Linked DNA regions of Homo sapiens: regions 2, 3 and 4 are each linked to region 1. Evidence: promoter capture Hi-C in 16 types of primary human blood cells and fetal thymus (Javierre and others, 2016). All regions are on one chromosome and are shown on one strand. Each heading gives the region's core, a stretch centred on a gene start or on the middle of the fragment in contact. The rest is flanking DNA. Distances are from core to core; before and after follow the strand shown. Region 1 holds the start of PRICKLE1 (prickle planar cell polarity protein 1). Region 2 has its middle 110 kb from the start of LINC02461. Region 3 has its middle 190 kb from the start of LINC02461. Region 4 has its middle 170 kb from the start of LINC02461.

Region 1 (2,700 bases), core at 90-2,589:
CGGCTCCATTTTTGCTGAGTATTCCTTTGCTTTATTCCCAACGAAAATCGAAAAGACTTGATGTTCTGAGAAATTCTGAGACTGGCAGTTTTGATTTTTCTTAAAAGGATAAAAATTGCATCAGTCAACACCTCCCTCCACACTCCCCCCACACACATCCTCATCTTCCTGGAAGATGATACAGTATCCTAGAGCGTTGTGGAGAGGATGGAGAGGTCAAGGAAGCCCTGGCTTTGCAGAGGCACCTGTCAAGTTCGGGTTAACAGCTGCCGCCTGTGTCTGCCCTCTGCAGTCCAGGGAAATAGTACCCACACGGTGAGACTCCACCGATCCGGAACTGGAGAGGGTGGGGGGTTCTAAGGTTTAGTGTGACACAAATGTCAGGGCAGAACTTTCAAACAGGCTGAGCCCCAGTTCAACGTGGGTGAGTGCGCCTGAGAGCCCAGCTCTGGGAATTGAGCAGACTGAAAATGTGGAGAGTAGTTTGGCCAGTGAAAAATTGTCACCGTGTTCGGATCAATGCTTTGAACCCGCTTTTAAGTGCGCCACGTTCACTTGGGTCAGGCTCTGGACATTGCGGTGGGCTGAGGTTTTCGCGGGCACGATCCCCCACACTGAGTTTTCATGGAGACGACCAGGGCCGTCGAGGCGGGGAAGGGAACGGACTAGAGGCTGAACTTTGGCTTCTTGCTCTGAAAGATCACTCCTCCGGTTCCGGGGCAGAGACTCAGACCAGCCTGTGGGATTACACGAGACAGGATCGAGTCCAAACGGGTCCCCAGCTCGGCAAGGCGCGCCGGAAGGAATCTAAGTGTTTAATTAACTGCCCCCTTCACACACCCCCCGAAGGAGAAGGAACTCAAATAGGCACCCCTACCCAAATCGTTTGATCAGAGGAAATTGGGTTTGTCTCTCCCCCACCCCCCACCCCGTCCCTTCACTCTTCCTGTGTTTCAGTCCATCGGGATTGTTGGTTAAAAAAAAAAAAAAAAAAAGGCTTATAATCGGGGGCGGGGCAGAGGCTCCGAGCGAGCCGCACTTGCGACTCTGGACCGCGGTTGGTGAACTTTTTTCTCCCTGCGCATAATCCGCCTGCTGCTCTGCCCCACTGGCTGCGCGTGGAGCCGGTCCCAGGCCTGCTCGCAGCCCTGCCCCCGGGCGCGGCCCGAGCCGGGCCCGACCTCGCTTTCAGGGCCGAGCCGGGGTACGCGTGGGCGCGCGCCCAGCGGCCTCGATCCCGCGGCGGCGTCCGCGCTCCGCGTTTTCGCTCGCGCCGGGCCCCGCGGCCGAGGGCGGGGTGCGCGGCGGCGCCGCAGCGCGCGGCTCCGGAGCCCGAGCGCACTCCGCCTGCAGCCCAGCTGCCAGCGCCGTCTCCCGCGGCCGCCGCCGCCCGACAGCGCGCCCGGAACATGCCAGCCTCGCGCAGCCTGCGCTGACTTCCCCGAGACGCGCCGCGGTCGGCACGGAGACTTTCTGGGCTCTGGATGGTTCGTGCGCTGCTCACCCTCGCCCACCCCTGACGCCGCGGACCGCAGCTCCTCAGCCCCGCAGCCCCGCAGCCCAGCAGCCCCGCAGCGGCGCCGAGGACAGTGCAGCCGAGTTGCGTCTCCCTCGCGCGAGGTGAGTGGCAGCCTGGATCCCGGCGGATTCCGCAGAGGGGGCTGCGGCGCGGTGGTGGGGGGCGAGCGCCGCAGGGGTAGGGCCGGGCACCTTCGCTGGCACCGCCGGAGTCTGTGACACCCAGACTGGGTCGGTGTCGCAGAAGATCAGGGAGAAGGTCATAATCGGTTTGTTGGGCTGTGTAGACAGGGAAAGCAGATATTGGCTGCAGCATCGCCAGGGCTCCGCAGAGGCTCTCCGCATGGCTCCTGTTTGCTGCATCACAACCAACTCTTCCCTTGGTTTTCTCCGGCGTGGAAACAGGTTCTGTAGCCCGAGGGTCGAGGCGATGCGGGGCGCCGGGAGGCGAGGGTGCGTTGGCGTGTTCCCGCCGCTTAGGATCGCCTGTCACCTACTGGCGTCCGGAGGGAGGGTACCGATTCTCTCCTCTAGCGCTGGGGAAAGGGGCTGGTGGCTTTTTGGCAGAGGCGAATCAACTCCCACCACTCTCCCCAACCCCCTGCCCCGCGATGGTGTTTGCTGAATGTAGCACAGATATAGGGAAAAAATGGGAGCGTCTTCCTCTCTTGAGGTAGAAAAAGTTGAAGAAACTAGGCATGTTAATAGTTATTAGGAGCGGGACTCAGGATGCAGCAGAAAGCTGTTAAATTTTCATTACCCTCTAAGAAAAACAAACGGCATCGCCAGTGACTATTGGCAGTGCTGTGTTATTCTTGGGACTTTGGGAAAATTGTTCACAGATTGTCTTCAGGAGGCTGAAGAACGAGGTTGGGGGTTGGGAGAGAGGGAGGACGGCTGCATCACGCTTAGTTCCAGCTTGCCTAAGGAGGGTTCAGGATCACAAGCCGAACGCGTTTGGTTGCTGATTTTTAAAAGGGTATCAGCGGCAGAACTGAGACCATGAACAAGGCAAACACACCACGGGAACCAGCCTAAAGGAAAAAAAAAAAGCACCAACAACTACAACCAAAAAAACATGTAAAAATCTGCCTCTCCTGCAGAGTTAACATGCATTTGTGCTATCAAATGGATGCATGTATATGTGTCTTTTAGGATAAGTTTTATGAATGACAAATCACT
Region 2 (2,818 bases), core at 201-2,700, 680 kb before region 1:
TACATTATAATATACATATGCACATACAATTGTTTCTTGGTTTCCATGGGTCATCAGTTCCAGAACCCCCACACCAAATTCCCAGATACTCAAGCCCCTTCTATAAAATGATGTAATATTTACATGTAGCCTATGGACATCCTCCCATATACTTTAAATCATCTCTAGATGATATACAATACCTAATACAATGTAAATGCTATGTAAATAGTCATACTGTACTGTTTTTAAACTTTTATCGTTTGTTATTGTATTGTTATTTGATTATTATTTGTTGAATGTATTCTATTTGTGATTCAATTAAATCCATGGTTGAACCTGTGGATACGAGAGCTAACTGTACATAGATACATATACATACATATATAATACCACCACATTTACAAATAATGAGATAGCCCATCAAAGGCATTGTTCTACCAGAGATTAAATTTGTGTGTGTGTGTTTCTTTTTTTTTTTTTTCTTTTTTGAGATGGAGTCTCGCTCTGTCACCCAGGCTGGAGTGCAATGGTGTGATCTCAGCTCACTGCAACCTCTGCCTCCCAGGTTCAAGCGATTCTCCTGCCTCAGCTTCCCAAGTAGCTGGGCTTACAGGCACCCACCACTACGCCTGGCTAATTTTTTGTATTTTTAGTAGAGACGGGTTTCACTATGTTGGCCAGGCAGGTCTCGAACTCCTAACCTCAGGCGATCCACCTGCCTCGGCCTCCCAATGTCCATTTCTCTGTTTTAACAAGAAAAGTTGCCAGCAATCTCAAGGTGCAGGTGAGGACAGGAAATCATTCTGGGAGTGCTGAGTGGAGTGTCCCTTTGAAAGGGAATTCTAATAGTTCTGATTATAAGTAGCTCTAGCAGAATGCATGTGGTTGCCAGGGAGAAAAGGAATATGAGGATTCTAGGTTTATGGGGAGGTAGCTGCTAGAAATTTGAACTAAAAGTGATGAGTGCTTAAAGCTGTACCCTTAGGAGATCATGTGTGGGGCACTCTTTACCAATTATACTATAAGGAAATGGAATCACCTCTCACAGCAGAGCACAGGCACTATCTGTCAGGATGTTTGGGAGAATAAAATAGCACATGGCAGTGAGAAACAATAAAATTGTGACTTGATCAAATTGGTATTATCTTCTCCTGCTGTGAGTAAAATGGAGCAAGAGCCCTTTATAACAATACCTAGAGAGTATAGACCTTTAGGACATGGGTCGCATACTGGACTATCTGCTAATAGTGCAGGAAAAAAAATAAATAAATTTAAAAAGAGCTGCAATTGTATTTGTAACTAAAGTTATGAAGCTATTCCTTTGAAAGATAAATGTGTGTGTGCATTTAATTTTATTTACCAATAGTCAGAAATATACAAATAAACTTTACTTACATGGTTCACCATAATTTCACTTGAAGAGAAGAAAGATTGCTAGCTTCAAAAGTATCTTTCTATACCATCTTTGTGAGGAAGATGAACACATTTCATGGTTAAAATATAGATTTTAAAAATACTGGAGTCTTATTTTCTATGAGAATTGCTGAATTATCACTTAACTACTTGAGAAATGTTCACTTTTTGCCAAAGCCTCCACAGTACTTTGGGAAGAATCTGCAGTCTGCTGGGAATCTTACTTCTCTGGGACAAAGGGAGTTAAAGACCTTGTGCTCCTCAATACATTTGACATTCCAAGAAATTTTGTAATAAAAGAGGAAGCAATTAATCTATGAAAAATATTTCATAAAGAGAAAAGCACTTATACTTCTTTCAGGAAAAAAGAAGTTGTCAAACTCCACATTAAATGCATTGTAGATGAAATACACTTGAGCAGGAAGGGAGGAGAATTAGGAGCAGTGGTCAAAGGGCCCTGGAGCCTAGAAGAAAAGAATCTGATGGAGCACAGCTGCAGCCAATCCGCATAACGTTCTCTCCAAGGAAGGAAACTGAGCGATAATGCCAACCAAACAATGTTATCACAGTGGCCAACTGCTAGTTGCAAAAGGCCAAGGCAAACTGAGATATTTACATTCAAGAGTAAAACAATTATCTTGCATCTTATTTCCATTTTCATTTCCTGTTCATACTGTCTAACTAAGTGAGAGATAAGGGTAACATTTTTAATAACAGGAGTTCCAAATAATTTCAGAGAAAATGAAATATTTACCAAAAATTTAGTGCTTCAAGGGGGCAAATTCCTCTAAGCAACTACATGGACAGTGCTAGATATAGGGCATATACTCAATCAAGAGCATTCGAATTCAATCAACAGATTACTAAATATTTATTGAGTTACCTACTAAGATGGGGCTTAGGCTAAAGTCAAATCCCAGCTCTGTCCACTATACTCACACAGCACTTTCAAAATATTTTCAACATCCACCCTCATGCCACAATAATTACTTATTTATGGGTCTATCTTTTAACTACAGTTTGAGGTGCAGGAAGATAAATGCCATGATTAAATAATTATTATATCTCAATTAGTTTGCTCAATGCTGTACAGACATGGTAGCTACTAAATAAATATTTTGTGAATTTATTAAAAATTAATACATATATTAGTTTATTGTCCTTATTTCCTAGGCTTGCCTTCATTGCTGTGGTTCTGTGTAAATTTGCTCAAGCTCTTCATGCTCTATTTAGAATAACACTGACTTCACAGGATTTTTTTTTTTTTTTGCTCAAACGTGTCTTTATTTTGCCTTCTTTCTACTTTAAAAATATCAGCTTTATTCAGTTATAGTTTACATACAATAAAATCCAACACTTTAAAATGTACATTTGAATAGGTTTTGATGAATGCATTTAGTCATGTAACCGCTACCACAATTTA
Region 3 (2,700 bases), core at 151-2,650, 750 kb before region 1:
GTTATTACAAACAACTATTACTGAAAAAGTGTCCTGATCCAGACCCCAAGAGAGGGTTCTTGGACCTTGCCCAAGAAACAATTTGGGGTGAGTCCATAGAGTAAAGTGAAAACAAGTTTATTAGGAAAGTAAAGGAATAAAAAATGGCTACTCCATAGGCAGAGCAGCAGCATGGGCTGCTTGTGTAAGAATACTTTATTTTTTCATTATATGCTTAACAAAGGGTAGATTATTCATGAGTTTTCTAGGAAAGGGGTGCGCAATTCCTGGAACTGAGGGTTCCTCCCCTTTTTAGACCATGTAGGGTAACTTCCTGATGTTGCCATGGCATTTGTAAACTGTCATGTTGTTGATGGGAGTGTCTTTCAGTATGCTAATGCATTATAATTAGCATATAATGAGGAGTGAGGATGACCAGAGGTTACTTTCATTGCCCTCTTGGTTTTGGGGGGTTTTGGCCGGCTTCTTTACCACGACCTGTTTTATAAGCAAGATCTTTGTGACCTGTATCTTGTGCCAACTTCCTATCTCATCCTGTAATTAAGAATGCCTAGCCTCCTGGGAATGCAGCCCAATAGGTCTCAGTCTTATTTTACACAGCCCCTATTCAAGATGGAGTCACTCTGGTTCAAATGCCTCTGACACAACCAGAGAAAATATTTATCAGAAACTTAGGGCAATCCTGAACCCACGCACCCAAACTCATAGCTTCAAAATATAAAAAGTAAAAATGGACAGAACTACAAGAAAAAATGTGAAAATGTAATGGTGTCAGAAAATTTAATTTGGATATTAAAAACAAAACTTCCAAACAACTTGTAGGTTGGAGAAAGACTCAGTATATTTTGTAATTTTAAATAAAAGCAAAACACGATCACAGCTTGTAAGATCAATGTTAGCAACAAAAGGAAGCAAAAAGAAGACAAACTAAGGATAGGACCTGTTTGGGAAACCCTGGGACACATGAAGAGAATCATCTGGCCTGATATTCCTCCAGATGTTTTGAACTGAAAGACTTCTGAACTTTCTGAGCCTACAGGAATGGCCAGCCTCTCCCTAGTATGAACCAGTACACCCTGCATTCTGGAAGATGATGCAGAGGCCCCTCTTCCACAAAGTTTTAGGTACCTCTTTCTGGATCTGCCCTTCCCTCTCCTCCTGGGCACTAGGACACTGGACCTATAAGTAGGATTAAGTCACAGCATGACCCAGCTAGGGACTTACTGGGCTTTATAACAAAGGAAAAGAGATATTTCCCAAAGGAGCTGCAAGACCTAGCCAACATGTACTGGCAGAAGCTGGAGAAGTGGCATTTGAGGGGGCCTGCCCTGCTGAGAGTTATGGAGATAGTCAACAGAACACGTTATCTAAAGGGTCAAAATATGAGGGGAGTCAACAAGGGCATTACTCAGCGTCTACCAGTAGAAGACATCAAAAGAGGCCAAGCACAGTCATTCTTTGCCAAATTTTTGGACTTGAGGCAATTTTCAGACTCAACACCCATTGACTGAGGAGTGGCTTGGTCCCCAGGAGGAAAGACTGCCAAACCCCAGTGAATTTATATGCTAATAGTTTTCCCAATCCTTCCTCTGAAACATCTATGGACATTTACTCAGATATTGTGCACTAAGGAAATGGGAACGTCTATGCATTTCAGAGACCATTAGATACTGTGTCTGAGATAATACTTACATCTGGAGACATGAAATGTCATCATAACCATTAGGATGGGGTCCAGATAATAAATGGAATCCTGGCTATGTTCTGATTTATATGGGGTTCGCTAGGTCCATAGATCCATAGGTCCACCTGGTGATCATTCCTCTAATCTGAAGGTACAACTGGGATTGAAACACATGGCAGTTGGTACAATTTCACATTGGGTCCTTGGCCTGTGGGGTGAGATTTGTCATAGTAGGGAAGATGGAGGTCTCCAAATCTCACACCCAGTCTGGAAGTCTTATCACATTGTGGAGGTAGTGATATTGAGGGAGGATGGCAGAGATTAGTGCCCTTAAGGATCTAATGAATCCAGGTTCCGGGGATAGTGTTTCCCATCTTATTTCCATTTAATTCACCAGTTTGTATGCTGAAGAAACTGGATGAATCCTAGAAGATGACTATAGCCTACCACAAACTCAACCAAATAGTAATTGTCAACACAGTCTTGGTGGCAGAAGTGGTATCTTTGCTATAACAGATTAATATGACCTCAGACACATGGTCTGCAGCCACTGATTTACCAAATTTGTTCTTTTCTATCCCCAAAAGGAAAGAAGATTAGAAATAGTTAATAATCACATGGATTGGACCCAAAAAGTTACATTTACAATTATGCTTCACCTCAAGACTGTATTAATTTTCTCATCTTCTGTGACAGTCATACTCCAAAGAAATATGGATCATGTGGTCATCTTTGATCATCACATTGATCCATTACATTGATGGTTATATGTAGACTGGATTAGATGAGCAAGAAGTGGATGATGGAGGTCTTGTTAAATAAAACATACCCACTGCAGAGGAGGGGAGATAAACCCCATAAAAATGTCAGAAACCTGACAGAAACCTATGAGTTTAGGGATTTTAGTGATCAGAGCTCTGCTGGGACATCCTGTCCTGATAAAAATCAAACCTTCGTATCTTACAGCTCTTACCATGAAAAAGAGAGCAAAATAGCTGGAAGACTTCTTCGGGTTC
Region 4 (2,700 bases), core at 11-2,510, 730 kb before region 1:
ACGAGATCTGATGATTTTATAAAGGGCAGTTCCCCTGCACACATGCGAGACATGCCTGCTGCCATGCGAGACATGCCTTTGCTTCTCCTTTGCTTTCTGCCATGATTGTCACGCCTCTCTAGCCATATGAAACTGTAAATCCATTAAACCTCTTTTTCTTTATAAGTTACCCAGTCTTGGGTATGTCTTTATTAGCAGCATGAGAACAGACTAATACACTTACCTAATAATCCCTCTGAAGATTCACTATGCCTATTTACTTGAGGCATGGCTCTGATATTTACTGCAGATCCAAACCTATTTGATGTGGTATTTCAGCATACAAACAGAAACTTTGGGAAAATCATTTGTATAATATGTAAAATGAAGATGATTCAATAACTTTTAAAAGCTTGGTCAGTTATTATCTACTGATGGCCTTCTGTTCTTCCTAGGAGGCATAAAACAGCAAATTAGGAATGGTAGGATTGTTGCTGATGTGAATTTTTTTTTAAATAGTCATCTTGTTACTGAAATAACAGATTTTTAAATGCTGTGGACATATAAGGTAAGGAAATAGAGTGTAACAGTTAAGAATCCAGATACCAAAATGGTTATAGGTAACATTAGAAAGAATAAGGAGAGATAAAGAGTTGGGCGTAGTGGCATGAGCCTGTAGTCCCAGCTACTCATGAGTGGGAGAGTCCATTGAGCTCAGGAGTGTGATACCAGCCTGGGCAACATAGCAAGACCCTGTCTGTAAAAAAATGTGGTGAGGTAAAATTACAAAGTAACTGAGCTGTATCATTATAAGATTTCTTAGGATTTGAACTCTTATATAGCATTTAGGTGAAAAGCGTTTAGTTACACTAATTTACTCAAATTGATTCTGATTTTAATGTCTTAGTCTACACAAAGGTTCTAAAGATCAGTAGGCTAACATAATTTAGAAGAAGGGCATAATGATTGAATCATCTATACCCTAAATGACCAGCCTGATTAGTAGAGAGTAGGCTTTGCATTGAAAATGAGTAACCTACGAGGGAAAAAAGGAAATATTAAAATTTAATGTATCTAGCATTTTCAAGGAAATCAGCCTTTAATTCCCTTGGCCAATGTCCAGAAGAACAGTAGTAGACTGTCAAATATGCCTTGGATTTAATTGGGTACCCCACTTTAAAAAATATTTCTGATCTCTGGATCATGACAATATAATGTTCAACTGGATCTTTTCTCAGCCTATATTTTTCCAGACTGCATTTCTAATCATTTTGGTCAGACCTCATTTGGTAGCCCACATAAATCCCTAAAATGATTTTTAGTTTGTCTAGCACTTTTTCAAATGGGATTACATTTTTCTTCAGCAGGCCAGATGTTCCAGCGTTTCTCAGGGAATAGGCCAAGAACCATCTACATAGAAACGTCTGGGGTTCTTGTTAAAAATGTACACATCTAGGCCTAGCCAAAGGCCCTGGCAGGGAATCTGCATTTTCAAGAAGCACCCTTGGTGATATTTATACTCTCTTAAGATTGAGAACGTTTGAACTATTGGATGACGCTGAAAGGGCAGCTAGACAGTGATCACTGATCTTTACTTGTCCAGAAAGCAAACTATGTGGTGGCTGTTTTCTGCTTCGTCCTGGGTCAGACTTGCTGGTTTTTCAGAGTCAGAATAGCGGAGAGTTAAGAAACTTGATCAGCTTTAGAGTTGGATTGCCAGTCAAAACACAGGATACTCAGACAAATATGAATTTCAGGTAAACAACAAATAATTGTTTAGTATATGTGTGTTCCAAAGATTGCATGGGACGTACTTATGCCGAACAATTATTTGTTGTTCATCTGAAATTCGAACAACTGGATGTCCTGTATCTATATTTGTTAAATTTGACAACTGTCCATTTTAATCAAAAAGGTCTGGGTTTGGATCTGCCACTTATTAGTTGGTAACCTTGGAAATTTTTATTCACCTCTCTAAACTTCCATTTTCCAAACCATGAGATGAAGCAGTAGCAACAACAACAACAAAAACCAAACAAACAAAAACTCCACAAAAATCTGCCTTACTGGGTTATCAGGAAAATTCTACTATATTTATTTTATAATGTAATCTTTCTACATGTTGCATCTGGCATATATTAAAAGCTTAATGATATGTAGCTGTTCTTGTTATTGTCATGGCTAATATGACACATTCCAAAAAGAGCTTCTAAGCCTGGTTAACAAATATCGATATCATTTACAAATTGACAATGTATTATATTAATTTTTTTCACCGAGTGCATTAATGGAACATATAAAGTAGCTAATTCAATGTCCCACCTTCTGTCCACTCATTTCCTTCTCATGTTTTGTTCTTTACCTTTATTGTATCATGAATTTAGGAACAAAGCATGTGAATATATGGATTTTTTTTTTCACTTGCTTTCTCTGTGATTGTAAGTTTTAAAACTGACTTAGGACATTTTTTATGTTATTTATTTATTTATTATTTTTTGAGAAGGAATTTCGCTCTTGTTGCCCAGGCTGTAGCGCATTGGCACGATCTCGGCTCACCGCAACCTCCACCTCCCGGGTTCAAGCAATTCTCCTGCCTCAGCTTCCTGAGTAGCTGGGATTACAGGCTTGTGCCACTACGCCCTGCTAATTTTGTATTTTTAGTAGAGACGGTGTTTCTCCATGTTGGTCAGGCTGGTCTCGAACTCCTGACCTCAGGTGATC

What was found. The method cuts DNA at HindIII sites, captures the fragments that hold promoters and counts their contacts. A CHiCAGO score of 5 or more calls a contact.
Region 2: a contact is called between a fragment that was not itself captured here and the fragment with the promoter of PRICKLE1 in region 1, in 1 of 17 cell types (megakaryocytes). The highest score is 5.4, in megakaryocytes.
Region 3: a contact is called between a fragment that was not itself captured here and the fragment with the promoter of PRICKLE1 in region 1, in 4 of 17 cell types (megakaryocytes, M1 macrophages, M0 macrophages and 1 more). The highest score is 11.5, in megakaryocytes.
Region 4: a contact is called between a fragment that was not itself captured here and the fragment with the promoter of PRICKLE1 in region 1, in 1 of 17 cell types (M0 macrophages). The highest score is 5.5, in M0 macrophages.

What each region holds. Positions count from the first base shown.
Region 1 is chr12:42,588,385-42,591,084 of GRCh38, reverse strand. PRICKLE1 (prickle planar cell polarity protein 1) reads left to right here and starts at 1,339. Exons shown (of 8, transcript NM_153026.3): 1 at 1,339-1,620. RefSeq lists an enhancer at 59-616 and a silencer at 1,086-1,335. The HindIII fragment of the contact is 6,666 bases long and covers 1-2,700 here.
Region 2 is chr12:43,267,093-43,269,910 of GRCh38, reverse strand. No RefSeq gene overlaps it. Among named protein-coding and RNA genes, the nearest start is that of LINC02461, 110 kb to the right of the region's middle. The HindIII fragment of the contact is 4,161 bases long and covers 1-2,818 here.
Region 3 is chr12:43,339,620-43,342,319 of GRCh38, reverse strand. No RefSeq gene overlaps it. Among named protein-coding and RNA genes, the nearest start is that of LINC02461, 190 kb to the right of the region's middle. The HindIII fragment of the contact is 3,677 bases long and covers 1-2,700 here.
Region 4 is chr12:43,319,160-43,321,859 of GRCh38, reverse strand. No RefSeq gene overlaps it. Among named protein-coding and RNA genes, the nearest start is that of LINC02461, 170 kb to the right of the region's middle. The HindIII fragment of the contact is 1,733 bases long and covers 394-2,126 here.